Linked DNA regions of Homo sapiens: region 2 is linked to region 1. Evidence: promoter capture Hi-C in human tissues and cell types (Jung and others, 2019). All regions are on one chromosome and are shown on one strand. Each heading gives the region's core, a stretch centred on a gene start or on the middle of the fragment in contact. The rest is flanking DNA. Distances are from core to core; before and after follow the strand shown.

Region 1 (2,700 bases), core at 190-2,689:
CTCTCTCTTCTTACCTGTCTGAGGTTAACTAGGGATTGCCATGCATAGAGAGAACTTAATGGTATGGGAGGTCATTTATTTGTGTGGCTCTTTGGAGGGAATTTCAATTTTGGTGCCTAGATTACAAACCATATTCAAGTCTTCTGAAGAACCATGGAAAAGGAGAACAACTTACAAATGCCACACACCTTTTGGGAGGCAACAAACTCCCTACGAGCAAGAGTATCCAAATAACGTCCCACCTCTCTGCAGGGCCACTAATGCTCCCGACACAGGGCAGACCTCCAAGTAGAGAAGCATCTCTGGAGAAATTAGAGCCTCCCCACAAGGAATATGAGGGCTCCGATCAGTGGCCACAAGGAACCCCTCCCTGCTGCCTCCACAGTGGCCCCACACTCTGTCTTCTCTGCTCCCATCTTACCCCAAGGCTGCAGGACCTTGGGATAGAAATCTTCTCCCCTAAGCAGCCCAGAGAATGCTCCTTAACCCAAGACAGTGGGTTCTCAGTACTACTTCCTCCTTCCTGCCTGGAAAAGTGCAAAAAGTATAGATATGCCCACAGTTCACTGGGCAAATAATGTACTGACCTCCGGGGGATCCTGGCCTTGAATGGACTAGATCTGCCTTCTCTGAAACACAACTGGTCATGGAGGGTACCCTGCGAACAGATGTTCATCACAGAATTATTTAAAAAGATGAAATGTTAGAAACCCAAATATCTAGCATCCAGGGGATTGGTTAAACATATTGTAATAATATCTTCCTGATGTATTCTACAATATTAATATCAATACAGTATCATAAGCATTCAGTGTCACTGTAGAGGTATTTAATTGAATGGGAAATATTCATAGTACATTATCAAATAAAAACGTTTAAAAGATATAGTAATTTCTTATCTTTGCAAAATAGATATGCATATCTATGCATAAACAAAAACATGGGAAGATGACACTAAAATGTTAATAGTGGTGAGTGATAGATGATAGATTTCTCTCTCTCTCTCTCTCTCCACCTCTCTCTTTGAAGCTGTATTTTACAAATTTCCTGAAATTCACCTGTATTACTTTTGATATAAGCAAAAATTATTTTAAAAGTGGTTATTTTTTAAAATATGGCATTAAGTCCAATTTAAAAGGTAGTGAGCAAATGTTGGGTCGGCTTCTGTAGTCTTAATTCTGGTATCCTTTCAGAGAGGGTCAGTACTCCACGTCTCATTCTTTGTTCTTTTGCAAAACTTTATTTGAAGGCTTTCATCAACTGGTCATTCGACATGCACTTAAACAGGAACCCAGGTAATAAATTCTGCCTTGAGTTTGTTCCAGGAAGCAGTGCGGCTTGACACAAAGGATGTGCATGCTTTATGTTGTCAGATGATATAAACTGTGTTGCCCCAGATTCTGCCTTTTGCCTTAGCTCAGAGCCACCTGGCTGTTTTAATCATCTCATCTCAGATGCCTGGCAACATCTAATTCCTCAGCTCCTTTTCAGTAATTTCAGTTCTATTTTCTTACTCTATCATTCTGGTGTTTTCATTGCATTTTCTTATAAAAGAGATCCAGATTTATTTTGGAAATAGATTTGAATGACGAAAACATCCTATAGAAGCAAATCCTAAACAAATATAAATATTTGACCATGATTATGCAAAGAAAGCTCCTGCTTCCTCCTCTGTGTCACAGAGACCCTCGGGAGGAACTCCAGGGAGAATGGAAGCTTGGGAGTCATCCCAACCCTTGCTCAGGTGCGAAATCCCCTGCCCTCTGCCTGGCACTGATAGGGACGGATCAGTTTCTCTGCCTGGAGAGGCAGCCTCCTGTGACCTGGATACATTGGAGCCTGAACACGGGAACAGAAGGTATCCTCCCTCCTTCCTTAGTGGTCTCCGGGTGCCCTTCTGGGGAGGATTGGCTCTTCTGGGCTTCTTCATGCATATGATTCCTAGTCATGGCTTCAGCCCCTTTAGTTCACTGGGTCCTTATTCCGTGTTTTCCTGTGCCCAGCTGTGAGGCTAGAAAACGGAGAGGAGAAGGAAGAAGGGGACAGGGATGGTGTGGTGGTTGGTAGAAGAGAAAGAAAGATACAGACAGACAGACAGACAGAGAAACAAAACAGACCCTCAGACACTGAACATGTTTAATTAAGCCGACTTTATCCAGTTGCAGTTGAAACCAGGGTGGAAATAATTGATGTTCCTTGTATTGTTTTAGGTGAAAATGGTAGAAATAAATGGAACTGTCAAGGTTGTAAACCTTCCCATCTTCATTACAAATAAAGAATTAAGAAATGAACAGTAGTAAACAGATAGGGGTTCCAAGATGTCTTTTTCTTCCCCCAAGGCAATGTCCCCCTGGAACTTAGCACCAAGGCACCCTGTTTTCTGTCCTGACGGTTACTCCATTTTCTCCTCCCTTGAAAAGGGTTGCCCAGAGCACCCCCAACCCACTCCAAGGCCAGACCTCTCCCAGCCTGAACTTCTTCATAGACCTGTTATCATCCCTCACTCACCTTCAAAGCCTCCCACTCACCAGTTCTTCTTCCTAGTCCTGGGAAAATTCCTTCTCCAGAAGCTGCCTGTGCATTCACCAATCTAGCCCCCTTAATGACCCTTTGAGGCAGACACTTTATCCCCATTTCACAGAGGTGGAAACTAAGCCTCGTAGAAGGTGAGTAACTCAACCCAGGTCACACAGCTCGAGC
Region 2 (2,700 bases), core at 170-2,669, 34 kb before region 1:
ACTTTCGCTTTTAGCATGTATCAACTTTGGATTACAAACTTCCTCCAAACTTGTTAGCAGTATTTTTGTTTCTTCTTGTACTAGTGATAATGAAAGACAAAAACATCACCTTGCCTTCAGTGTCAGAGATGTGCTTCTGTTTGAAGGAGATCAACCCCTCAGAGTCCGTGTTGTAGAGAGAGGGTGCATGGGAGAACAACCTAACTCCTGACCCTGGTGTGACGTTCTGTCCATTGATTTGTTACTCTCATCCAAGCAGAACGACTCTTCTCATGTAGGTGCCATGCACAGTAGGAGGAGGAGAGGGTCTGGCTGATTAGGGTTCAAATCCTAGCTCTGCCCCTTTTTAATTTTGTGACATTGTTCAGTGTGATTCACTTCTCTGAGTCTCAGGTTCTTTCTCTTTCATACAAATTAGTAATAACACATCATTCAATGAGATGATATATATGGGGCATCTCAACTGTACAGTAGGTCTCAGGTGATAGCGATTTCTATTGTGAGGTAGATTCCAAGCCGCAGAGCCCCTCTCCCCGCAGTAAGCCTCCTCTGAACTGAGCTTGGGAACATGGGTGGGAGTGGGCCAGGCTGCCTACCTGCAGACACAATCCAGAGTAGCAATAATGAGAGCAAAGTCAAATTGACTTGGGTCTAGAGGGCCAACCCCTTCCTCTCTGAGGACCACCTCAAACACATAAGCAGTCCAGCCTCTATTCAGGAAGAATATGTGTGAATCACAGCCATCAGGCCCAGGCCTCTGCTGAGAGCAATAGAAACTAATCAAAATTATGGATCATTTTAATAAGAGGTCTTTTTGGAACCCCAAGGACAGTTATAGTTGGAATTGATTTAGGCTGGCCTGAGGATTGTAAAGAAAGTATGCCTGTGGTCTTTAAGTCCTAGAGCTTCCTTTGGGTAATTATAAAGAAATACAGCAGCACATAATTGCAGCTCTTCTTGATGCAGAGCACTAGGCTGTGTACCTGCAGACACACATCTGGGTCAATCCCCGGATGCAGACACACATCTGGGCCAGTTGAAGCCAGCAACTACACTCAGTGAAAGCTTGGTATAATGTGGCTTTCCTACTATATTAGATATTCTGTCCCCACACAAGGGCAATAAATGCATTCCTCAGCACAGATGCTATTTCAAATGCCATTTTGCTTTATCCAAATCAAATTCCTCAAAGCACCAGTTTTATTTTCTGACAATACAGCATGTGGACAAACAGCATTGCATCCAAATCTCAGCTCTTCCACATCCTAGTCACGTGACCAGTTTCCTTATCTGAGAAATGAGGATAATTATGGCAGGTACCTCAGGAGGGAGAAGGAAAATGAGCCAATGACTGACATATTTAGTCTAGCTCCTGGCACATAGTAAGTGTCCAAGAAAATGATAGAATGAATAGTAGCTGCTCATGTATGGCATACACAGATTATAATAGAAAGTATAAAGGGTAATTAAATCTCAGCTAAGCTAGATTTGCTTTAGGCTGAGGCATAACAAAGTTGATAAGAAGCCTATTGAAAGAACCATGGAAACAATGCTGGCCCACACAGCTGAGACCCCAGAGAAGTGGGAGAAGCCTAAGGAGTGTCACTTGTTCTTCCACTCACTTCTCTTTTGGTTTGAGTTTCTAAAGAATCAGTATTGATGGTGGAAAAGGTGAACGATTGACTTGGTGAAGCTATAAGAATGCAGGGAATGCCAAGGAAAAGTTTTATTTTTCTTTTCTTTTTTTTGAGATGGAGTCTTGCTCTGAGGCCCAGGCTGAAGTGCAATGGCGTGATCTCGGCTCACTGCAACCTCTGCCTCTCAGGTTCAAGCGATTCTCCTGCCTCAGCCTCCTGAGTAACTAGGTATACAGGCACCTGCCACCACACCTGGCTAATTTTTGTATTTTTAGTAGAGATGGGGTTTCACCATGTTGGCCAGGCTGGTCTCGAACTCCTGACCTCAGGTGATCCACCCGCCTCCAGCCTCCCAAAGTGCTGGGATTACAGGCATGAGCCACCGTGCCCGGACCGTTTTTCTTTTTTTAGTGATAAAAGTTATCATGCATATAAAAGGGTATATATTAAATTTTTGCTGGTTTAAAGGATAATAATCAAATGAGCACCTAGGTACCTACCACCCACTCAATAAAATATTGCCCACAACTCAGCCCTCCTGAGGGCCACCCTCATGTATTCTTTTCCCCCACTGCCCTGAGGAAATGCCGTTGTGTATTTTGTGTTAATCACTACCCTGCTTTACCTAAAGTTTTCTGCCTGTCCCTAAAAGATATGTCTGTAGATGTGCTGCTGTCATGCTCTTTTTGCCCAACATTGTGAAATTCATCCACATCGTTGTCTGTGGCCATATTCCTTGGTACAAATATAAAACAATTTATTCATGCAATCTACTGTTCATGGACACCTGTGTTGCTTCCAGTTCTTTGCTCCTACAAATATTCATACACATTCATGTATTGCATTTAGCTTGCAATAATTTTTCTAGGGTCCTTATGATGAACGGTTTTAGAATTTTACTGAATTCTTCACCTATTGAGATGATCATGAGGTTTTTCTCCTTTAATCTCTTAATGTGGCAAACTAAAGTAATAAATTTTTTTAATATTGAACCAACAGTGCATTTCTGGGATAAACCCTACTTGATCTCTTATTTGTTGGTAATTTTGGTTTACTTTTATTT

Evidence for each region. Contacts are between HindIII fragments. The study calls those that stand out against the background at their distance.
Region 2: a contact is called between a fragment that was not itself captured here and the fragment with the promoter of KIAA0087 in region 1, in 1 of the 25 tissues and cell types used here (neural progenitor cells).

The regions. Positions count from the first base shown.
Region 1 is chr7:26,537,564-26,540,263 of GRCh38, reverse strand. KIAA0087 (KIAA0087 lncRNA) reads left to right here and starts at 1,439. Exons shown (of 2, transcript NR_022006.1): 1 at 1,439-1,858. LINC02981 (long intergenic non-protein coding RNA 2981) reads right to left here. Exons shown (of 5, transcript NR_148502.1): 5 at 1-2,011. The HindIII fragment of the contact is 4,605 bases long and covers 1-2,700 here.
Region 2 is chr7:26,571,344-26,574,043 of GRCh38, reverse strand. No RefSeq gene overlaps it. Among named protein-coding and RNA genes, the nearest start is that of LINC03095, 21 kb to the right of the region's middle. The HindIII fragment of the contact is 8,227 bases long and covers 1-2,700 here.